Regions from separate parts of the Homo sapiens genome. Here regions 1, 2, 3 and 5 are each linked to region 4. The links are contacts of gene promoters, found by promoter capture Hi-C in blood cells and fetal thymus (Javierre and others, 2016). All regions are on one chromosome and are shown on one strand. The core of a region is centred on a gene start or on the middle of the fragment in contact, and the rest is flanking DNA. Distances in the headings are between cores, read along the strand shown.

Region 1 (4,720 bases), core at 760-3,259, 5.7 Mb before region 4:
AATGAAAATAATTCAGAAGATGAAGTGGTGAAATGTGAACCTTTCTTTCCTTGTAGCATTAGAAAAACATCTGTTAAATATCAACCAAGCATTTCAGTGATTGTCTAGAGGATTGTGGGAGGTCACAGAAAACTTCCAAAGCTAAGTCAACATAGTTTGGTTTCAAAAGGAAGTGCCAAGGAAGAGTGTTTGAACCCTAAGGAATAGCCCGAAAGAAACAACCAACCAATTCCACAGCCACACCGTAAAATGAGGCCTAACTCTTCATGCTGGCCACTCCTGTTTCATAAGCACAAAATTAGATGTCATGTTTTCTGCGCTTACAACTTAATTGTCACCGGACTAAAGAGGTTGATTGCATAGCAAATTCCATAACCATGGAACTTTAGGATTTGGAGGGTTAGGCCAAAAGAGAATTTGCTTAATAGGACTGTCTTCAGAATTGGACCTCTTGAATGTGATTTGCTATAGAAAGCATTCGTGGGGGCCAGCTCAGATTCCATTCTCAGAATACAGTGGTTACACTGGCTTGTTCCACTGGTTCTAAGCCATGGGGAGATTTTGCTTCCCTCCTCCCAGAGGACATTTGACAATGTCTGGAGACATTTTTGGTTGTCACAACTCGGGAGTACTACTGGTATCCAATGGGTGGAGGTCAGAGATGCTGCTCAACATCCTACAAGGCAAAGGACAGCCCCCCACTGTAAAGCATTATCTGGCCCAAAGCCTCAATAGTGCCAAGGTTGAGAAACCGTGGTCTGTTCTAGTTTTAGTCCCATGTCTTCCTTGGCAATTTAAATACTGCTAATGATGTCTAAAGCATGTAGACCGTGGCTCTAGGCCTACAGTGTTAAATGAGAAAAATAGTTTCTTATTTGCCCACTCAAATGCTGAAGCTGTTTCCTGAAGCTGGGGAGGGTGGGGGTAGTGGAAATAGAGTCCAGTGTTGATCACTTTGTTTTCCCTTGAGTCTGTTAATGATGAACGGAACTCTATTTGCCCTAGAGAGATTGTTAGAGGTAGATGAAAGAACCTTGAAAATGACTTTATTACTCTGCATAAGTCAGGCTGTCTTTCAGAGAGCCACAAAAAAGGAAACAAAAAATCGACCAAGGGTATACACATCTTGGCCTGTTCTCACTGGCCACTGAGTATTTCAGATGGGATGGGTGAATTCTTTTAGGGGGAGGTAGCAGTAAGAGCTGGCATCCTCATCTGGGGAAAGGCTCTTTAGTTGTATGAAAGACAAGACGACAATGTAGTTGTGGGAGCCCACCCTGAGGGCAGAGCCTGGTGGCTCGTTCTAGAGCCAGTGGCTGGGGTCCCAGAGACGGGGCTCCGGCTGCTGCTCCAGCTTTTGGGATCTTCTCCAAATGTCTGACTCACTATAGTGACGATGACTCTTAGGAGGATCCTGTGGATGTTTTTACAATTAATAGGGATGACTGGGGTTTTAGAAGAAATGTATACGTATCTACAACTTCCATGTTTTCTCCTGAAGACAATTATAGTTGGCATACCAGGGCAGAAGGCTCTAGTTTGTTTCTCCACTAATTTGCTGGCCAAGATGAGTGCTGAAGCTTTTATTCCTCAGAAACTTTATGATTTGATGAGTGGTCCATGTCTTGGGTCTTCATCAATTCATTCAAACCATTTGTAAACATTGGTGGATGTCTTAGCCCATTTAGTGCTGCTTTAACAAAATACCTGAGAATGGGTAATTTATAAAGAACAAAAATTCATTCTCTCACAGTTCTGGAGGCTGGGAAGTCCAAGATTAAGGCATGGGCAGGTTTGCTTGTCTAGTGAGGGCTACTCTCTGCTTCCCAGATGGCGCCTTGTGCTTGGGTCCTCTGCAGGGGAGAAAAGCTGTGTGTCCTCACATGGCAGAAGGTGCCAGGGCACATGAGCTGAATGCTGCCTGAAGCCTCTTTGATAAGAACCTCAATTTCATTCATGAGAGGAGGGGCTCTCATGACCTAATCTCTTCTTAAAGGCCCTACCTCTTAATACTATCACATTGGGGACATTTGAATTTTGAAGGTGACACAATAGCAGAGGAGGATCAGATATGGGAAGTAAATGCTTGAAAGTGAAACTGTGCTCATACAAAAGGAACTGAATTAAAATGAAATTTTGTTCTTTCCTAGACTGGCTCGTTCAGTCTCTGACCTCAGCCACAGATCGTATCATGATGTTCCAGGTTTTTTCTCTCAGTCTTTTAGGAGCCTTGGAGATTTCCTAATTGAGCTAGCTGAGGTGCAGGCACAATTTTCTTGTCTGGCCTTTTGACTTCCTGTTTGTGGCCTTAGCCCTGCAATACTGATTTACATTTTAGTAATTTTTTAGGCTTTAATTTGGCTCTATAAATTCATCTGTATATCAGCTTCTAGAGGGAAAAATGTATCTTCATTGAAAAGCAATTTGAGTTAAGCTTTAACTAAGTCCTCACCCATAAAGGAAATGCTAATGAAGAAAGGATTACTTGGTCATAGGACACGATTTGACATATGGCTTTGCCCCTGTGATTTGGGCAAAACAAGGTCTCCTTTTCCACCTTTGTAAAATCACCATTAACCTTTAGCTTCTTGGGTATGGAGGCTTTCACTTGGTGGGCAGGCTTTCCGACTATAATGTGCTTTTTAAAGAAAATGAAATCCTTTGAATACGCACAGAGATGTGTTGTCTCTGACCATGTCCTCTTGTTTTGTGTCTCCTCCATCATCTCAGCAGTGACCTCACCTGGAAGTCCCCTGTGGCCCCAGGGCTTGGAGAACTCATGGGGTGACTGGCTCCAGTAAACCAGTCTTATTTTACATAGCATTTTCAGCTTGGGTTTTCTGCACCAGTGGGTAGAGCTCATTAGCATGCTTTTCTGCTAAATTTAAAATGTTTCCTGATACCTGAGAAGGCTTAAAGGAACACCCATAACCTTCCACCTTTTTGGAGGAGGGACACGGCCTCTTTTAGTGGATGAAAACAGCTCTGACTCCACAACGTCCTGCTCTCTCACACGCCAGGGTCACGATCCCAGGCTGTCCCACCGGGCTTGTTTAGGAGCAAAAGGAAACAAACCCTCTGGCCTGGGGACACCAACAACTGGCCGAAGCCAGGAGCCTCTGCTGTTACCCCTCTTCAGCTTCCCCTTGTGACTTGAGCTGTTCAGAGGGGCTCAGTTTTAGGGGTCCCTTAAGGTTCCAAACTGTGTGAATGGGTGTGAGTCACAGGACTGGTTCTCAGGCCTGGGCAGCTGGAGTAGCCCTGTCCGCTCAGAGCCACAAGAACGGTACTGAAACGCAACTCTCGAAGAGTTCCAGTCTCTTCTCCAAGGGACTGAATAAAATCAGAGCTCCTCCAGGCACATGTCCAATTATTTTTACAAAGTTTTATTGAAACTTGTCCATCAAGGTGACAGTAATTCACTGTTTTGAAAAGTCACAAAAAAGGGTACCCCCAAACTCAGGTATACCAAGTAAATACTGGAACCCAGGGAGCTCACTCCTCCCTCTCCCACCAGGAGCAAAGGGCATAACGGGAGCTTCCGCTGACTCACAGCAACCTGGGCTAGTGGGTACATCTGTGGCGACTCCCGGGAAACTGAGCTGCGTATAAAGAAGTCTGCTTTGGTCCAAAGGACATCTTCCTGACCCAGACTCAGAAGGCTGCTGTCAAGTTCTACATTCCTTTCAGAATAAGCAACAGCAACTGCTGCAGTCTTGCTAACTAGGGGCAGAGGTCCTGAGCAAGGTGCCACGGGACCTTGTAAAATCACGCTGTGTGATTTTATAGGGAAGAGGGCAGAGTGCCTCTCAAGTTTTCACGGTTAACACTGTCACCTATTATGACTGGAATAAAAAGCTGGACAACCTGCCAGCTAACTGGTCAGTCCTGAGGATCATCCAGCTGAATGGAGAAATCCGGCAGCAGGTTGAAAAGTCTGTTCTGAGAACAGATTATTGCTGAGCAGAGTTCATGTGACTTCTAGACGTGGTGACTTAAAAAATGGCCTTAAGGCTGCAGAGCCAGCCACCTCTGCTTACAAAAAGAGTACTTAGTGCACATGACTGTAAGAAACAATTGTAAAACCTCATCTAGAAATCAGAAAGCTTCTAATTTCTATAGAAATGACACCTCCCTGGAGCCGAGAGACAATCTGTTGTTGATTTTGAAGGACAGGCAAGACCAACACTGTATTTAGTTCCATAGCCAGGCCTCAACAGGGACAAGTGGCTGGCCTTAAAAACACACAGATGACTGGAAATGATGTGTGGCCTCAGTCCCTGTTTCCCAGAATTTTACTGGCAAAGGAGTTAGCATTCATTTTTGGCTTAAGAAAAATCGAGAATGTAGGTTTAGAACTGCACCCAGCCTCATGCACCGCGGGGCCAGGGCTGCAGATCCTCTGCCACCCCTCCCTCTTTTCTTGGACTTGATGAGTCCCCGAGGCTCAAAGCCATGGGGGTGCTAGGAGGACTGTCACAGACCGAGGCGCTGCAGGAGCTGCTCTGCCTGGACAAACCTTCAAGCAGGACCAGGGCAGGTATGAAATGTCTTCTGAAGAGTGTGAAATGAGCAATGTACAGTCCATTCCCTCTTGGGGAAAGCATGCACGTGTGGAGCCTGGTGGTGTGCTGTCTCCTGGGCCACCATCCGCCCCCAGCTCTTCATATGGGCTTGTATAACAAGGTGGTGACGTACTTCTTCTTGTACCGGTGGGTTG
Region 2 (4,676 bases), core at 1,283-3,782, 6.2 Mb after region 4:
TAAAAGGCAATATAGTTCTTTTATTGTAATTGTCTTTTTCTTACTATAGTTAAGAGCTTTGGTTTCTTAAATTAGTTCTGAATTTAAATCCCAGCTCTCCTTACTGGTTATGTGATTCTGGGTTAAGTTTCCTAGCATCATTGAATCTTAAGTTTCCTCATCTTTAAAGTGGGATTAAGAATAATACCTACCTCCAGCCTGGGCAACATAGGGAGACCCCATCTCTGCAAAATAAAAACAAATTAGCCAGGCATGGTGGCACTTGCCTGTGGTCCCAGCTGCTTGGGGGCTGAGGTGGGAAGATCTCATGAGCCTAGGAGGTAGAGGCAGCAGTCAGCTGTGATCACGCCACTGCACTCCAGCTTGCAGCTACTGAGCAAGACCCTGTCTCAAAAACAAAAAAAAAAAAAAAAAAAAAAAGAAGATTAAGAGAGATAGTTACATATAAATCACTTAGCCCAATACATAGCACATGGTAAGGGAGCCATAAATTTTAGCTATTATTATTTTCAGGTTGATTGATAAAATGGCATTGCCATTTTTCAGAATTAAAAACCTATTTAGATTTGATTTCACTGCTAAGGAATATGTAACCTCATTTGATTCCTCTTCTCTGCTTCACCCCCTCCCATACGCAGAGAATAAAGCCCAGTGTAAGGACTGGAGGTCATTAGAGAGCCCCTTTTGGGTAACCTGTTGGCTAGCCTAGTGGTTCTGTAATGTTTATAGTATGGCAGTCTCTAAATTATGATATAAGAACTAATACTTTTTGATAACAACCTTCAGTGCTGTTTTATTCAAATCAGTATTACTCTTATTCGAAAGACATTTGTAATGGCAGTGCAAGATGGTTTGCATAGAAAAGGTGATTCCTAGGTTCTTCACCTTGCCAAAAATAGTCTGTAGTTAAAAAAAAAGTTTGGTGCAGTTAAAAAAAAGTTTGGTGCAATGAAAAACTTTTTGGCAGTGTTTTGCAGTTTGATCTGTGATCTTTCACTTAATAGCTATGTGATTTGGGGCATATGACATGGCCTCTCTGAGCCATAGTTCCCTCATCTATCTTACGTTGCAGTATTGGTGTGAGGATTTGAAGTCATTTTAAGTGAAGTGGTAGCAAAGCTTACATAATGACCCTCAATATTTGGAGGACATTAATATACTGATACAGAATCTTAGTAAACTGTTGCTGAATGGGGAAAATACGATGCTTTTCACATCATCGATAATCTGGATCTTTAACTCCTATTAAAAATGATTAGTAAAATTTACTTGAGTAGGTTAAAATGCGCTGCCTAAAACACTACTGGTTTGAAATAATAAGCCATTTGGAGAAAAATAAATATTATAAAAGATGAAGCTTGAGTGATTTAAAAAAAAACTGTCATTGCCATTGTGCTCTAAGAATTGCAGACTTTGCTTTAGATGGTGTGCCTAGAGTTTCGAACAAGGCAGAATTCAAATCCTATTTCTGCTATGTGACATTGAATTGAGTTTTTAATGTCTCAATCTCAGTTTTCTTATCAGTAGAAAGAATATGGCACTAGCTATCTAAGAGAATTGTTGAGCGTAAAAGTGAACTAATAGTTGGCCAAGTCCCATTTCCCCATCCCCACTGTTTCAGTTTCTTCAGTATCTTAATACAGAGTCATTGGAGTAAATTTTTGCATAACTAGTTGTGTGTGCTCTTTTCTAGGATGAATGAAATGAACCTGAGTCCAGTGGGGATGGAGCAGCTGACTTCATCCTCTGTGAGCAATGCCTTGCCAGTCTCAGGAAGTCACCTGGGATTGGCTGCCTCACCCACTCACAGTGCCATCCCTGCCCCAGGTGAGTGGTAAGGGAGACCTACTGCATTTCAACACTTAACTCTGTTATCAATTCTAAATGGAGTCTAGAAGAGATCAGAGCCCCTTTAAGGGTAGAAGGTAGAAGGGAGAAGGTAAGCAGGCCTGAATGGTGGTTCAACATGTGATAGGTAATGGAAAATAAGGTTTTTGTAGAGGTAGAGTATTAGAATTCTAGTGGATAGTAGCAGCAATTTTTTCTGATAGTCCTCTTCTGAGTTGGTAGCTTTTTGTCCAGAGCTGTAATTAACTTGGCATTTTATTTAGGGCTGCCCATTCATCTGGTTCACACTTCAGTACCCGTTCCCTGGGTTAATAGAAGAGAATCAGTTAAAATTACTCTAATAACTATTCCCAGAGAGCATGGGGAATTGGGCTTTATATTCCACCAGGTTTGAAATTAAATGGCAATAACTGCAAGTGTACCAGGTCTAGAATTAATGTGGAAAGAAGTGTGGTACTTTTACCTGGGGCTTTTACATGGAACGCCTCATGAGCCTCCATACACAGCAAAATCGTATAGGAAAAATTCATTCTTCCTATCCTTTTTTTTTTGAAATGGAGTCTCACTCTGTCATCCAGGCTGGAGTGCAGGGGCACGATCTCGGCTCACTGCAACCTCCGCCTCCCGGGTTCAAGTGATTCTCCTGCTTCAGCCTCCTGAGTAGCTAGGATTATAGGCATGCACCCCTACACCTGGCTCATTTTCTTTTTTTTCTTTTTTGAGATGGAGTTTCGCTCTTGTCGACCAAGGTGGAGTGCAATGGCACGATCTCGGCTCACTGCAACCTCCGCCCGCCTCCCGGGTTCAAGCAATTCTCCTGCCTCAGCATCCCGAGTAGCTGAGACTACAGGCACACGCCACCATGCTCAACTAATTTTTTGTATTTTTAGTAGAAACGGGGTTTCACCATATTAGCCAGGCTGGTCTCGAACTCCTGCCCTCAGGTGATCCGCCCTCCTCGGCCTCCCAGAGTGCTGGGATTTTAGGTGTGAGCCACCGCGCCAGCCGTCACTGTACTTTTAAAACCTTTTTTCTGCCTAGCTTCATTTTCTTATTCTATTGAAATAGAATATAAATGGAATAAATATTCTATTGATTATTACAATGATAAGCTGTCAGTTCTTTAGGATCAATGACATTGTTATGTATTGGACTTTCTTTGTCACAGTAGGAGTTAGTATAAATAAATCTATATATTGTTTAAATAGTTCTCTAAAGAGAATTACTTGCTTAATTAATAAAATGCAGCAGTTAAATAAGATTCATTGAAACTAGGGTCTCTTCACATTTGTTTAAGTGTCCACAAAAGAAATCTTAAAAAATTATTAGTGGTTAACCCACTTGATTGTTTGTAGGCATTCCCTTTAGTGGACACTCTTGTTAAGGTGGAAAAGCCTGTTAAAAAATATTGCCAGCCAGGCACAGTGGCTCACGCCTATAATCCCAGCATTTTGAGAGGCCAAGGCAGGAGGATCACTTGAGCCCAGGAGTTCAAGATCAGCCTAGGTAACATAAGGAGACCCCATCTCTACAAAGAAAAAAAAAAAAATTAGCAGCGCATGGTGGCACACACCCGTAGTCCCAGCTACGTAGGAGCTACATAGGAGGCTGAGAAGGGATGGCCACTTGAGCCAGGAAAGCTCAGGTTGCCTGAGCCATGGTCATGCTACTACGCTCCAACCTGGGCAACATAGCAAAACCTTGTCTCAAAAAAAAAAAATATTGCCCCTGGCAAAAATATGCAAATCAGCACTGACCAAGTTGGTGGGTATTTATTATGATACTTAGCCCAGTAAAAGTCACTTCACTTTGCAAGTACATATAACTCAAAGTAGATATAATCTCACGTTTAAAGCTTTTATTAATCACTAAGTGTAGCATATATACAAAAGATTGTATGAAGGTGTACATGTACAGTTTTACATCTAACTAAACTACGTTGTTTTCCAGGTAGAAATGAAATATTCTCACCATATAAAATGGTAAATACAATAAAGTTTAAAAATACCAAAAAAATTTCATACTATCACTACCTAGGGACTACTCCTATGAACATTTTATGTTTCCATTGTTTTTTTCTCTATATAATTTGTTTTCTTGTATTTAAACTCGGTTTTTAATTCTAAATTAAATATTTTGGCTGGGCATGGTGGCAATCCCCGCACTTTGGGAGGCTGAGGTGGGCAGATCACTTGAGGCCAGGAGTTCGAGACCAGCCTGGCCAACATGGTGAAACCCTGTCTCTAGCAAAAATACAAAAATTAGCTGGGTGTGGTGGTGTGTGCCTGTAATCCCAGCTACTCAGGAGGCTGAGGTAGGAGAATTGCTTGAACCCAGGAGGCCGAGATTGCAGTGAGCTGAGATCACACCACTGCACTCCAGCCTGGGCAACAAAGCAAGACTCCGTCTCAAATCAATCGATAAATTAATTAATTAAATATTTTTGTATTTAAGCGCAATACAGACAATTGGAGTATCAACTTGCCGGTTTAGAACTAACTTAAAAACTATCTTTGGGACTAAGACTACTTTCTTTAGGCTTATTTGTGGATATTTGCACATTATCTAAGGATGAAAAGGGCTAGTAGGTGAGATTTTTGCCCATGTGTAAAAACCTTTCTAAGAGTTTAGCCAGTGGTTGTAGTGAGAATTTTTAATTACCTATTTTCTTTTAACTGAGAAAAAAAATTTTGTTTTGTAGGCCTCCCAGTGGCAATTCCAAACCTGGGTCCCTCCCTGAGCTCTCTGCCTTCTGCTCTGTCTTTAATGCTACCAATGGGTATTGGGGATCGAGGGGTGATGTGTGGGTTACCTGAAAGAAACTACAC
Region 3 (5,048 bases), core at 1,941-4,440, 5.7 Mb before region 4:
AGCAAATGGAAAGTTCTGGAAGGGTATACAACACATTGTTAATAGTGGTCTTCTGTGGGGAGAGGAGGGAGATTGCAAATAGGAGCAGACAGAAAAGGGACTTTCACTTTTCATTTATATAGTTCTGTATTTGAAAAGTTTTCTATTGTGAGGATGTACTACTTTTTAATTTAAAAAAATAAGATATGGTTCCAGCCCCAAAGGAATTAATACAGTACAGGCTGGCACCGACCCACAGAAAAGCAATAATATAGCTAGGTAAGGGATCCTGTGGGAGCCCAGAAGGGACTTAAGCCAGGCCAGGAAAAGGGATGGGAGCCAGGAAAAGGGATGGGAGCCAGGAGGGTCTTCCTGAAGCTGATGACTGAGAATTTGAATGTATTCAGTATAATCAGAAATGTTGAATGTGCTTGCTGAATTAAATAAGCTAAGATACTGTGGATGACCCAGGATATCTTCTTTGAGCTGCTTTTCTAATAGTGGCCCTGACTTGGTTACATGAGACAGTGGGGTGTTGAGTTTTGAAATCTCTCCCAAACAGCCGGAGAGATAAGAAAGAACACATGAGCTGTGGATTCTTTATCTGAGCTATGCAGATGCTTTGATGCATGAAGAAAGTTTTAAGACATCTGCACTAGCTTGAATAAGATAACAGTGAAAGCATGGGTGGCCCTTGATGTCAAATACAATCAACAATATCCTGAGGATGCCACCAACTGCTGATTGGAAACTCTTACCACATTGTATCAAGATTTCATGACAAAGAAACTAACATTGGTATCTATCAGCTATTGACCCCATATTGAAAATCATGGGTAGGGTAGACTCGCCAATTACAAGTGTCTACTTGGGTCCCAGCTGTGTCTCTCTTGGGTCATTTTGTGTTACTTATCTGTGTAACAATGGTTTGTGACTTTCCTAAGCATCAGAGCGTCTCATCTTTCTCTGATTCTCTGCTGATATGGATGTCAGACCATTCCATCTTGGGGGCTGGAGGTGTGCCAGGAAGTATAACTGTTAGCACATTGCTGTGTAAAAGGCATCATCTACTCACTGCTGTCTGTCTGGCACCAGGGCAAAGACAAATGATAAATACCCTAGATTCTCCCCCAAACAAACCAGGGCAATTTTAACACAGCCACAGCTAGGAGTACCCCTCCCCCACCCCCGCAACCCTGGCTTCAAATTCACTCCAGCTCCAAGCACAAAAAGAAGTAGGTTTTCAAGTCCTTAAAAGTCACCCAGAGTGAGATAAAATCTCATTTATCCTTAAATTTATGATTAAAAGGGTTAAGGATAATGTTTTGGGGCCTCCTCCATAGGATGGATTAGAATCAGTATAGCACTTCTGAACTGACCAACCCATTTGTTTTATATAAGGAAGAGTCTAAGTCCCAGAGATCGAACAGTTTTGCCTGAGGTCACTCAGATGATCATAGGTCATACTGAGACTGAATTCTGGATCACCTGGCCACTCCCCACTACATCATGGTCATGGCACCTCATCAAAAAGACCTTTGGTTCCCCAGCTGGCCTGTCTACAAACATTTGTACTGTTCTGAAGAACCCTCCCCATCTAAGAACAGCCAGGGCTCTGATCACAAATAACTCAATGGCAATATTGAGTGCCAATTATGAGCCAGGCACTGTTGTAACTCTTGGTTACAACAGTGAACAAAACCAAGTTCTTGCCCTCCAGAGGAAAGAGTCCACACACATATGCACATGTGGTGAGAACAGGCAGTGTTCTCACTAAACATCGGTAGCTGGAGGAAGAAATTTCACATTTGGACTATGCTGTAGACTAAATTGTATCCCCCCAAAATTCATACATTTGCACTCCCACTCCCAATTTTATAATGTTTGGAGGTGGGGCCTTCAAGGGGTAATTAGGGTTAGATGAGCTCATGAGAGTGGGGCCCCCATGATGAGATCAGGGTACTTATGGGAAGAAGAGACGCTGGAGAGCTTGCTCGCATGCTGTCTATTCACGCCCATGCTCAATGGAAAGGCCATGTGATGACAAAGCAAGAAGGCGGCCATCTGCAACTCAGGGAAAGAGCCCTCACCACACATCAACCATCCTGGCACCCTGATTGTATTAGGCCATTCTTGTATTGCTATAAAGAAATATTTGAGGTTGAGTAAGTTATAAAGAAAAGAGGTTTACTTGGCTTATGGTTCTGTAGGCTGTACAGCAAGCATGGCTCTGGGTATCTGCTTGCTTCTGGTGAGGCCTCAGGAAGCCAAGGGGGAGCCGATGTATTGATGTATCACATGGCAAGAGTGGGAGTAAGAAAAAAAGTGGGAGGAGGTGCCGCACGCTTTTAAACAACCAGATCTTGTGAGGGCAGCACCAAGACGATGGTGCTACACTATTCATGAGAAGTCCACCTCCATGATGCAGTCACCTCCCACCATGTTGGAGGCCTCACCTCCAACATGGGATTACATTTCAGTGTAAGATTTAGGGGGAAAAGTATCCAAATTATATCACTGATATTAGACTTCCAGCTTTCGGACCTGGGAGAAGTAAATCTCTGTTGTTTAAGCCACCCAGTTGATGATTTGTTATAGCAGTCTGAGCTGACTAAGACAGACTCAAATGTGTGTGGGCTGCTAGGATAGAATTACAAGCTTACTTTTAGGGCTTAACCAGATTTCCACCAGGCCTTCTGAATTTTGCCTAGCCAATGTAAGTAACACTGCCAATGTTTGAGAAACTTGTCCATCTTTTCTTGCTAGACATTCTTGTGTTCTCTTTGCACTGAGATGTGAATATTGTGACAGAGAGTCATCAACATAGAATTAAAAGAAGTTCATTCTACAGCATTTGGTCTACAACCTTAATTGGCAAATAGCCTCATTTTGTGACTTTTAGGTTGTCTGAGAAAATTCTGTTTCTTGACCTGGGTTGGTAATTATTAACATGTTTGCCTTGTAGTAACTTACTAAGCCATACATTTCTTTTGTGTAGTTTCCTGTATCTTTATTTTATTTTCAATAAAGTTTTTTTTAAATAAATAGCTTCACTCACAGGGTAAGCTGAAACCTAGAAGGGAGAAGTGCCCAGTTCAAGGTAACACAATGTTCTTAATAAAGTTCACCTCAAGTCTATCCTCTTTTTTTTTTTTTTTGAGATGGAGTTTCACTCTTTTCACTCAGGCTGGAGTGCAGTGGTGCAATGTCGGCTCACTGCAACCTCCGTCTCCCGGGTTCAAGCGATTCTTCTGCCTCAGCCTCCCAAGTAGCTGGGACCACAGGCGCACCCCACCACGCCTGGCTACTTTTTGTATTTTTAGTAGAGACGGGGTTTCACCATGTTGGCCAGGCTGGTCTCAAACTCCTGACCTCAGGTGATCCACCCTCCTCGGCCTCCCAAAGTGCTGGGATTACAGGTGTGAGCCACTGCACCTGGCATCTCTATCCTCTTTTAAGAGCTTTGAAGGAATGGAGGAGAAAAGGATGTACACTTTCTACCCCTTTTCTAGAGGACAAGTGACAAACTAAAGCAGTATCCAGGCAAAGATCCAACGGAGGTGAAAACAATGAGAGGAAGTCTGTCTCTGTCTCATCTCTTTAAAATGTAAGCTCCCAGGGATTTGAATATCAAAGTTTCATAATCACTTTAACATATGCTGTTGGGACCATCATACCCCATCTGCATGTGCCCTTCTGCGCATGCCCCAAACTTCCTAACTGTGAGCAGGTGCAACTCTGAGGGCCTTCTGGAGAAAGCTTTGTCGACACAAGTGGGAACCCAAGGGGACCAGAGAAGACACCCTGAGAGAAGCCCTCAGCCAACCACAGAGGAGCCAGTTCCCTTGCCCCTTGGATGTGCTAACTCTAATGAAGCAGCGTCATTTTTCTGGGGTAACACCCGAGGTTCGATGTCTCATGCTAAGGAAATTGAAGACATGGCCATGCAAGGAGTGGGTTTAAGAGTGGAAAGTTAAATAGATGAAAGAAGGAAGAGAGCTTCCTCATGCAGAAGAAGGGGTCCTGAGTGGGTTTCCCTGGTTTGGGGCAAGGTGTGGTTGGTTTTAGGGATGAGCGTGAGGAGATGGTATATGATTTACATGGGGTGTAGTGGATTGGTTGGACCAGATGTGCCATTTTCATAGCCCGTGAAGAGGCTGGTCATCCCACTCTAATCTTTTATTATGCAAATGGAATTTTAAAAAACCTGGCTGGTGCCATGTTATCTGCACACGTGGCAACAAAGAAAAGGGAAGAGGGAACCTCCATGTTGAATATACCTGGTTTCCAGCTATCTGTTTTCTATTGGCACAGCTGCTGGTATTTACCTATGCAAGCCTCTAGCTTGCTTATCTATGCTTGCAGCTTGATTTTTCAGGCTGCTTTTTGTTAAAAAAAGAAATGATTTGGAGACTGCGTTTTTATTAAAAGAAAAACCTTACTGAGGACTCTCTTACCCTCACTAACTGTCTAAATAATTTCTTTTTAGCTCTCGTATAACTAAGATATATTCCCTACCGTGTCTCAGAGGTCCCCAGTGGAAATGCACCCTAGATGTCCACAGCAGTAATTGGATCAAGGAATTCATTGATTATCTTCCTTTCCTTTTCTTTATCTCTTTTTAGGAGCACCTTCCAAATAAATACTCAGAAACACCTCCCAAGACACACTAATTGCATGAAAATCCTAGTTCAACCACATAGGTTACAGATGAGGAGGGACAATAGCTTGCTGAATTATAGAAAAAGTTAGTGGTCATAGATCATAATTTGGATCTTATGTCTTGGTTTCTGGTCCAGGGTACTGTGAGATTATCATTCTTCTTGATATGATGAACCATGGAGACTTTTAAAAAACAGGGATCGGCAGCATTATCATAATAGACAGAAGGTGGAAAGAATCCAAATGTCCACCAAGAGATGAGTTTGTAGGCTGGCACAGTGGCTCATACCTGTAATCCTAGCACTTTGGGAGGCCGAGGTGGGTAGATCAACTTGGGGCCAGGAGTTCGAGACCGGCCTGGCTAACATGGTGAAACTCCATCTGTACTAAAAATACAAAAAATTAGC
Region 4 (4,761 bases), core at 2,262-4,761:
CACACCTGTGGTTCCACAGTGGCTGTATCTCTCTATAGCTCTAGTCCTTAAAGTACGTCCCTCTTCCATGGCTCCTGGCATCACTGAAGCTCAGGAATGACATGTCCTACTCTGCCCTTCAGCCCCAGGGGTGGTGATAGCTCCCCACTGTTGCCAGGCCCTGGGGTTTGGCCATCCTTTGTTGGTTCCCTTAACCCTTCCTGTATTCATTTGCTGCAGGTGCTGTCTCAAATTACCACAAATTAGATGGCATAACAATGCAAAGTTATTCTCTCACATTTCTGGAGGCCAGAATCCCCCAAAGCACCAGCAGGGCCATGCTCCCTCCAAAACCTCCAAGGGAGAACGCTTCCTTGCTTCTTTCAGCTTCTGGTGGCTCCAGGTCTTCGTTGACTTGTGACTGCATCACTCCAGACTCTACCTCCACCTACACATGACGTTCTCTGTGTGTCCTTTAAAAGGACATGTGTCATTGGATTTAGGGTCTACCAGGATAATTCAGGATGATCTCATTTTGAGACCCTTAAGTACATTTGCAAAGACCCTTGATATGGTTTGGCTGTGTCCCCACCAAATCTCATCTTGAATTGTAGCTCCCATAATCCCCACGTGTCCTGGGAGGGACCCAGTGGGAGATAATTGAATTATGGGGGTGGTTTCCCCATACTGTTTTCGTGGTAGTGAATAAGTCTCACGAGATCTGATGGTTTTATAAGGGGAAAGCCTTTCACTTGGTTCTCATTCTCTCTTTGCCTGCCACCAGGTAAGACATCCCTTGCTCTTCCACCATGATTGTGAGGCCTCCCCAGCCATGTGGAACTGTGAGTCCATTAAATCTCTTTCCTTTATAAATTACCCAGTCTCAGGTATGTCTTCATTAGCAGCGTGAGAACAAACTAATACAACACTTTTTTGCAAATAAAGTCACATTTACAGCTTCCAGGGGTCAGGATGCCCCCAGTGTGTGTGGTGGTGAGGGGACAGGGGATCATTCATCCCACTACACTGCCCACCCTTCTGTAAATAGCTTTTTGTCCAGATTTGCTTTTGTTAAATCCTTTTGAGTATACCTCTGTGTCCTGCTGACTGATGCATTTCCTTCAAAAACATTTATAGCTACATACCTACCGTTTTTTAACAACTGCATAGAATTCTGTTGAATGGACAGACCTTAATTTACAATTAGCATTTAATGAACTCCTATTACCTGTCTCCTCCTGGTGCCCAGTGTGATGCTTTGCAAAGATGGATCTAAGGATGCCCCTATGGCAACATAATGTAGAAAGAACAAGTGGCCTCATCTATAACTCTGAACCTACACTGTGCGCTCCTCACCAGCGAGTTCTGTAGGTTTATGCTGTGGCAGATGCATGAGCTCCCTGCATTTGGGGCTCAGTAGGAAAGAGGCATATTCGAGGATGCCATGTTTGAGCTGGTCTTAGAGAGGGGATGGGAATGGGTTCAGAAAGATATTCCAGTGGCCAAAAGCACATGAAAGATGCTGTTTCATTAGTTATCGGGGAAATGCAAATCAAAACATTGAGTCACCACTGTACACCCACTAGAGTGGCTATGATTATAAAGACCCAATAACAAACACTGGAGGAGATGTGGAGATATTTGAACCTTCATATACCGCTGGTAGGAATATAAAATGGGGAAGCCACTTTGGATAACAGGTTAGCAGGTTCTAAAAAGGTTAAGCATAGAGTTACCATATGATCAGGCAATCCTACTCCTAGGAATATATCCAAGAGAAATAAGAACATATGCCCACACAGGAACTTACAGGTAAATGTTCACGGCAAGATTATTCACAGTAGCCACAAAGCGGAAACAACCCAAATGTCCATCATCAACTGATGAATAAATAAAATGTAATACATCCATATATGTAATACTATTCAGCAAAAAAAGTGTGGTGGCTCACGTCTGTAATCCCAGCACTTTGAAAGTTCAAGGCAGGTGGATTGCTTGAGCCCAGGAGTTCAAGACCAGCCTGGGCAACATGTTGAAACCTCGCCTCTACCAAAAAATTACCAAAAAAAAAAAATTAGCCAGGCATGGTGGCATGTGCCTGTAGTCCCAGCTGCTCAGGAGGCTGAGGTGGGAGGATGGCTTGAGCCTGGGAGGCGGAGGTTGCAGTGAGCTGAGATTGTGCCACTGCACTCCAGTCGGGGTGACAGAGCCCGACCCTGTCTCAAATAAATAAACAGATAAATAAAGTGCTGATTCATGCTGCAACATGGAAGAACTTTGAAAACATTATGCTAAGTGAAAGAAGTCAATTACAAAAGACTACATATTGTATTATTCCATTTACATGAAATGTCCATAACAGACAAATCCATAGAGACGGAAAGTAGATTAGTGGTTATCAGAGGGAAGGGAGAGGGAGGAATTGGAAGGTTATAGCTAAAGGGTGTGGTGTTTCTTTGGGGGTAATGAAAATGTCCTAGCATTGATTGTGGTGATGGCTGCACACCTCTGTAAATATAGTCAGCACCATTGAATTGTGCACTTTAAGTGGGTGAATTGCATGGTTTGTGATAAAGCTGTTAACAATAAGAAGGGGGGACGGAATGTCTTTTAGGTGAAGGAAATTGCAGAAGCTTGGCAGCAACGTCCAGTGCAGCTGAGGCACTGTGGGGAAACAGAAAGGAAATACCGTCATTTAAGAGTGAAAATAGGGGTTTTCATAGGATGTCTCCATCCAAGAGTAGGTACCGAGAATGCTCAGAGAAGCAATAGGAAAATAACATCCCTTTCACGTTCTCACCTCCTTAACCCCTAGCATAATAAAGAATTATTCCCATTTTATAGAAGTAGACACAAAGGCTCAGAGGCCATTTTGGCCAAGATCTCTCAGCTAGAAGATTGGCCAGCTGAGAGTTCCAAACATTAGGAAGGGAGGCAAAATGCTTGTGGGGCTGGGGTTGAAGGCGTAGAGACTCATTGTAGGGCCCTAGGCAGTCCCTAGCTCGAATCTGACTTTCCAATTCATAGTTATAAGACTTTGAGCAAGCTGCTTTACACGCACGATTCCCAGTTTATCTGCCTGCAAAATGAGAGCGTTTATTTCCAACATGTTCATTCCAAGTATTTACACAAAAGGCTCAATACTTGATTTGTGTTGGCTGGCAATCTCTCTAAACTTCACTTTCCCCATTTCTACGAGGAAGGCAAGGGTCCCTAATCTTGCCCCCGTTCTCAGGGGAGTCCTAAGGCTCAATAATAAAAATAAAATAAGAAAAAGGAGAGAACGCGATTGCCCGGTTGGCGCGACCCTTAACACCGAGCTAAACCGGCGCATGTTAGGGACCGGCGCCCCCTGCCGCCTTCTCCGCTGCATTGGCGTCTCACAGAATCCGCCCAAGGCCCTGCGCCTGCGCAAAATGCAAGCGCCCAGGCCCACCCCTTGTGGGGTGTGACCTCCCTGAGTAGTTTTGGATTAGCCACGCCTACTTCCGGACAGGTCAGGCCAAGGTCTCAGCCACGTGACTGTGTTCCGGCTCGGTAAAGATGGCGGCGCCCAGGGCGGTAGCGTGAAACTTGGTGGAAGACGCTGACCAGTCGTGTTGGAATCAAAACAGCGGGGACCCTGCGCCATGTCGCGACTGATCGTGAAGAATCTCCCGAATGGGGTGAGTGCAGAGGCAGGACTTGGGAATCTGAAATGAGACCAGCCGGGAGCTGTGAGGTAGGGAAGAGATGCCTGGAGGTGATCGAAGAATTTTTGCTCTGGGGCAGGACTCCGGGCCAATTCTGAACTCAAAGGGGGCGGGATCCTGGGCTTATCCCCATTTGATCCCGAGGAAAGAGGAATAGTGACTGCTTACGGTTTCACGGCCGGTTGTTTGGTACCTGACTCCTAACACACCTCTTCTCGGGGAGATGACAACTCCCACCTTGTGGCGAATACCCTGCTCCCACAACCTCTTTCATTCGATCACTGTTTTTTAGTTGTTGACCCGGGACATGGTCCGACACTGTATTTATATTCCTCTCCCAGTCTGGAAACTGTTGGGGAAGACATGGGGAATATTAATCTGCGGACCTGCGTTCCAATTCCCACTCCCATCCTTAGGGCAAGTAGGAATACGGAGTGGGTAAAGGGCTTTACAGCATTTATCCAGTAAGTGGGGAGTGGTGACCCAGCCATACTTTTTTGTTTCCCTGGAGCCCAGCGCAGAACCCGACACGTGGTAGGCAAAATAGGTGAATGTACGTAATATTAGATGATTAGATGCGGTGGGCTCGAATGGATCATCCTTTTTTCTCTCTCTCGCTGTTTTTTGTTCTGTTTTGTTTTTTTGTTTTTAAATGGATTACTGCTCCTTCCATCAGGTTAGACAGTGTCTCTTGATGCCTCGCTTTGTGGGATGAGGATTTTTAGCGTAGCTGCACTTCCTTTCCCTCCCAAATTCAGCTTTGTTGTGTTTCAAGTGTAGTTGATTCTCTTATCATTGTTTGTCTTATCTCTTTTTTTTCTCTCTCTTTCATGGCTTTTTTTGGTTTTGTTTTTTGTTTTTTTCTTTTTTTGTTTTTTTTTTTTAAACGGAGTCTGGCTCTGTCTCCCAGGCTGGACTGCGGTGGAGCAATCTCGGCAGTCTCGGCTCACTGCAACTTTTGCCTCCCGGGTTCTAGCGATGCTCCTGCCTCAGCCTCCCAAGTAGCTGGGACTACAGACACGCGCCACCAAGCCCGACTAATTTTTTTATTTTTAGTAGAGACATGGGGTTTCGCCATGTTGGACAAGTT
Region 5 (4,788 bases), core at 191-2,690, 7.7 Mb after region 4:
CACATGACTGGGTATCTTCGGCCCTGGGCCTCTTCAAATCAGGCAACTTCCACTGGCTGTCAGGGTGATGCATGAAATCCCTAGAGAAGAGAGGAAAAGGACCACGGCAGGGAGCCTCCTCAAGTGGGAACCACTGAGATTAACTCATTATCCGTTGGCAGGTAAGAAGAGCAAAGTCCCTGACTGGGCTGGTGACCATGGGTGCTGAGACACCCACTGGGGACAAGGACAACTTGTCCAGTTTCTTCACAGTTAAGGTAGCAGGACAACCATCTAAGATTTCCCAAACTTAAGTCGTTTGAGTGCCACTCTTCATGACTATTTCTACGTCTCCCTCCTTACCTTTACTATAATTTAGTAACCGCGTCTCTATCTTGACTAGATTTTTGCATTTAAATATATTTATTTTAAAAGGAAACTCTATCATTGTGAAACTGCTTACTTAATGGAACAGATTTTCTTAATAGTAACGAAAACAAGTAACTATGTTCATCCATATGCCACCTCAAATCATTGCTATTACCCCCAGTGGTGCCACCTACAGTAGCAGCTTTGGGAAGCACAAGCAACACCTGAGGGTTCAGCGTTCGAGCCCAGGCCCAATCGGCTTTTCTCCACCTCTTCCCCTTAACCAAAGGTCCCGGCAAGGGGACGCAGCAGCAGTCTGCACGACCTCACCCACGTCCTCTGGCCGCCCCTCCCCTCCAGCAGCACCAGGTTTCCTGTCAAAACAAACCCTTGGGGGAGGGGACGGCGGAGGCAGAGCTGAGTGCCGGGGAAACCACGGCAACAAATCCCAAACACACGCTGCCGGGCCCGCCCTGCCTCTACCCTGGCTCAGTTCCCTACTCCAGCCCGGCCGAGGAGTGTGGGGGAAGGGGGTGCCCTGGGCCCCTGATGGCGGGATGCCGCTGGTACCTGTCCAGCAGGATTTAAACAGCGGCGAAGCGGCCTCCGAGGCCCGAAGTCCGTGTCCACCCCGACACGCGGGGCGGCCACTCGGTGCCCCGCTCCCCGCTCCCACGCGGGACGGCAGTTCGAGGTCAAACAAGGGGACGCGGAGTGGGAAGACATGAACTAGGAGCCGAGCTTGATGGCCCCTGACCCCGCCTTCCCAGGATGGAGTTCCGAGATAGGGCAGGGGAGCCTTCGGGCTGCAGCGGTGTCCCCTCCGTTGGACCTGGCCGGTCACCTCCGAGCCGGCAACGCCTCCCCCGTGATGGATACGCACCGGGTCCAGCACGTAGACAAGAGGAGAACGGCGACGGAGTGACCCCGGGTCAGGGCTCTCTGGGCGTCCCCTCACCGAGCACAGCACAGTCACCTCGAAAACTCACCAGCCCAACAAACCCCCCCAGCCCCAGTGTCCCCCCCAACGCGGTATTTAAAGGGCCCTGAGGGACTCTAGGGAGGCAGCCACGGCGCGGCCATCACAAAACCGGATAGCGGGGGGACGACGGCGCGACGGGGCAAGGGGATCCAGGGCCCTTCAGTCTCCGAAAGCCGAGCGCTCACAGACTGAACCTATTAGAGAAACAGTCTTCGTCAGTTTGAACCAGAGAGGCCGAGAACAGCTCGGATGGGAGGGTGTTTCGGATGCGAGAGGGCACGGTTCCCCCGCGCGGCGAGTGGTGCGGTCCGGGCTGCCGGGGGCGGGGTGAGAAGTGTTTACGGAACTGAGGCCGCCGAGCCGACGGGAGCGCCCGGCGTTGGGGGCGGGGCCTGCCAGGGCACTGGGGGCGGGGCCGAGTGGGGGAGCGGGGGCTGAGCGGGGGCTGAGCGGGGGCTGAGCGGGGGCTGAGCGGGGGCTGAGCGGGGGCTGAGCGGGGGCTGAGCGGGGGCTGAGCGGGGGGAGCGGGGGCTGAGCGGGGCTCTGGGGAGGTGGGCGAAGCCGCGGGCCAAGCCTCCAGTGGAGTGCCGGACAGATCCCCTGGGCTTCCAGGCGCACTGGCGTGGACCACACTGCGAGCTCCCGGCCGCGCGTGGAACATTGAGTGCCCGCACACCCCTGTCTAGACGGGGCAATCGGAACTGGGTGCCCACCAACACACTGTCCACACTTACAGAGACAACCCAACCAACAACGCTGCTGGTGGGCTTTCCCACGCACGTCAGCCACTAACCGGGTCATCTCCAGTTGCGTCTACACCTCCACATAAACACGGGTCTAGATTTGCACCTGCACGGGACGATTAGCTCCTTGGAGTCACACCCATCCAGGCCCTCTGAAGACTTGGCGTGCGTGCAAAAGATAAAGCGTCTTACTTCCTCTAGGGTTCTTGGCAGCACCTATCTCCGGGAGAAGTTTCCACCTTGGTTAATGTAAATAACCAGTCCCAGGAGGGCTCTGTGCCGTCTGGCCTGCTGCTCAGCTCCTGCTGTGGGCGTGCTTGAGGGTGTAGAGAAACAAGCTTCCCCCAACTGTTCACATCAAAACTATGCCTTCTGCCAGGTGTAAATCGGTGCTGTATTACTTGGGAAATAGTTTCATGCAGGAACTACTTACATGAAGTTTGTATAGACTAAAGTATTTCTGTTTAGTGCCGAAATTATGTCTGGATTGTGGAGGCAGATTGGCCACCACCGTTCAAAAACAACAACAACAAACAACAGGCAACATTTTAAAGCAGGGTAGAAAGTCAGTTGTTCAGTGGTTACAACACAGACTCCTCTATGGTTCCAGTCCTGGCTCTGACATTCACTATCCATGAGATCTTGGTCTCTGGGGATAACAATGATAGCTATTTCCTTGGGTTATTTTGAGGATAAAGTGAAATAAAGCATGTGAAGTGCTTAGCAGGGTGCACAGTAAGCACTCTAAGTATTAGTTATTGAAATTCTTTGGCAAACCACTGTGGCCAAACTTAGCTGGTGATCTGTATAAATTTGTATCTGTGCCTCCTTTTGCCACTTTCCTCTCTTCTCCTAAAATATACAACCTAATAATACAGGTTAAGAGATTAAATAGAAGGTGCTGTCCCCACCTGAGTTCTTCCCTACAAACATGCTCTTATTTGTGTCATTCGTTGGATAAGTAATCAGAATGACAGAAGCCTCCAATTTCAATTCCTGCCAAATGACAACCACCACACAACTGCCATCACCACCCTAAAAACTCCACAATAGAAAGATGAACACCCAAATCCCCCAAACTTCTGGTAATTCTGTGACAATGACACATGGCAACATTACTTCCTTTGTTAGCTTTGTAAGGATTTAAGTATTGTTTTGAGCTATGACATAAGTTGGAGCAGGTGACCATGAGTCAGGGTAGTTGTCCTTTATACTGGAGTGACCAGCTGCCTGATCCTAGGCATGACACTTCTTTTAAAGTTCAGATATGTAGCTCTCAAAGCCACCAGGAAAGCAGCTTTTGTCAAAGCAAGTTCAACTGTAACATCAGAGAACCAAGCTGAGATAAGAAAAGATGCTGGAAATACTATCTTCTGTTACTTTAATGTTAAATAACTTGCTATCTGAAAACCCTTCTGTGAATTACCTGACCAACTGCCCTTGGCCTGACTTGTGTATAAAAGCACTTTGGGCCAGGCACGGTGGCTCATGCCTGTAATCCAAGCACTTTGGGAGGCCGAGGCAGGTGGATCACAAGGTCAGGAGATCGAGACCATCCTGGCTAACACGGTGAAACCCCGTCTCTACTAAAAATACAAAAAAATTAGCTGGGCGTGGTGGCACGCACCTGTAATCCCAGCTACTCTGGAAGCTGAGGCAGGAGAATCGCTTGAACCTGGGAGGTGGAGGTTGCAGTGAGCCGAGATCACGCCACTTTACTCCGGCCTGGGCGACAGAGCGAGACTCCATCTCAAAACAAAACAAAACAAAAACAACACTTTGAAAAAATGGAGTGCTGTAAAATATAAGGCAGTTCCCTCAAAAATGAGCCTTGTATCACATTGTTGCTCAGAGGGCTCAGACAGTCATAACACAAAATCTTCCCTGCTCAGGTTATGTTTATGGCTTTCTGAGGAAAAAAAAAAAACAACAAAATCTGAAAAGGCAACCTCTTTAGAAGTAAAATAATTAGCATTTTATTTGAAGAAGACATATTATTACACCTAGTTTTTCTAACTTACCTTTTTGAACCACTTAGAGAACTCACAGTAATACAGTTTTTTTTTCTCCCTGTAAATTACACGGTAGACTAAATGTGGTCTATCACTCTTGGCAAAAGACTAAGGGCAGATCAAAATTTTTGTTCGATGAAGAAATAGAAATACTCATTTTCTTTTTACACATCTGAAATCTGAGTTTTAAATTATAATAAATCATTGACAAAAATCTAAAAATGTAATTACAGTTGGATTTGCAACCTCTCAGCCTTATAACTTTTCTAGTGGAGTTGCATATTGTACTGATTTAATGTAATGCAAATTTAGCTATACGGGACTCATCTAGGACAGAATATGAGGAACACAAGAGAATAATTTAAATACTTCCAGTGATCTTGTCCCCTATTTCTCTCTATGGGAGTTGTGAGGCTTCTCTTACTGTGTTTATCTGAGTTTCTGAGCTTCTCATTATGTTCCAAGCTTCTTTCCCACGGCTGGCTTCATGTTCGTGCAGTCTGGGCAGTTGCACAAGGCCCCACCCTTGGAAGAGCCCTGTGCTTGGTTTAATACATTGCTGCTGTTGTGTTGAGATTCTTAATACTGTGCTTTTTGAAAGGGGGCCTTGCATTTTCATTTTGCACTGGACCTGGCAAATTATGTAACTGGTCCTGATCTCCCCACACAGAATATGAGTCTAGTGGTTAAAGGTGCTTATCTT

Evidence for each region. Contacts are between HindIII fragments. The CHiCAGO score rates a contact against its expected background, and 5 or more counts as called.
Region 1: a contact is called between a fragment that was not itself captured here and the fragment with the promoter of RBM19 in region 4, in 1 of 17 cell types (total B cells). The highest score is 5.9, in total B cells.
Region 2: a fragment that was not itself captured here is called in contact with the fragment with the promoter of RBM19 in region 4 in 2 of 17 cell types (activated CD4 T cells and total CD4 T cells); the score reaches 5.9 in activated CD4 T cells.
Region 3: a fragment that was not itself captured here is called in contact with the fragment with the promoter of RBM19 in region 4 in 3 of 17 cell types (monocytes, total CD4 T cells and total CD8 T cells); the score reaches 10.3 in monocytes.
Region 5: the fragment with the promoter of TCP11L2 here is called in contact with the fragment with the promoter of RBM19 in region 4 in 1 of 17 cell types (total CD4 T cells); the score reaches 7.1 in total CD4 T cells.

Annotation. Positions count from the first base shown.
Region 1 is chr12:119,680,270-119,684,989 of GRCh38, reverse strand. All of the region lies in intron 1 of LOC124903033 (a long non-coding RNA gene), which reads left to right. It overlaps PRKAB1 (protein kinase AMP-activated non-catalytic subunit beta 1), which reads right to left. Exons shown (of 7, transcript NM_006253.5): 7 at 3,371-4,720. The coding sequence ends at 4,665. Among named protein-coding and RNA genes, the nearest start is that of PRKAB1, 14 kb to the right of the region's middle. RefSeq lists enhancers at 2,629-2,758, 2,929-2,988, 4,584-4,720. The HindIII fragment of the contact is 854 bases long and covers 1,583-2,436 here.
Region 2 is chr12:107,753,983-107,758,658 of GRCh38, reverse strand. PRDM4 (PR/SET domain 4) reads left to right here. Exons shown (of 12, transcript NM_012406.4): 3 at 1,694-1,827; 4 at 4,550-4,676. PRDM4-AS1 (PRDM4 antisense RNA 1) reads right to left here. Exons shown (of 5, transcript NR_120474.1): 4 at 267-384. Among named protein-coding and RNA genes, the nearest start is that of PRDM4, 4.8 kb to the left of the region's middle. The HindIII fragment of the contact is 2,346 bases long and covers 1,360-3,705 here.
Region 3 is chr12:119,661,313-119,666,360 of GRCh38, reverse strand. All of the region lies in intron 1 of PRKAB1-AS1 (PRKAB1, TMEM233 and CCDC60 antisense RNA 1), which reads left to right. Among named protein-coding and RNA genes, the nearest start is that of PRKAB1-AS1, 4.3 kb to the left of the region's middle. RefSeq lists a cis regulatory region at 579-596 and an enhancer at 516-660. The HindIII fragment of the contact is 1,101 bases long and covers 2,640-3,740 here.
Region 4 is chr12:113,965,075-113,969,835 of GRCh38, reverse strand. RBM19 (RNA binding motif protein 19) reads left to right here and starts at 3,511. Exons shown (of 24, transcript NM_016196.4): 1 at 3,511-3,644. The coding sequence starts at 3,609. RefSeq lists enhancers at 3,205-3,274, 3,233-4,160, 4,161-4,761. The HindIII fragment of the contact is 5,534 bases long and covers 2,615-4,761 here.
Region 5 is chr12:106,299,385-106,304,172 of GRCh38, reverse strand. It overlaps TCP11L2 (t-complex 11 like 2), which reads right to left and starts at 1,440. Exons shown (of 10, transcript NM_152772.3): 1 at 1,232-1,440. RefSeq lists enhancers at 1,373-1,512, 1,523-1,602, 777-1,662 and a silencer at 1,683-1,802. The HindIII fragment of the contact is 6,335 bases long and covers 1-2,413 here.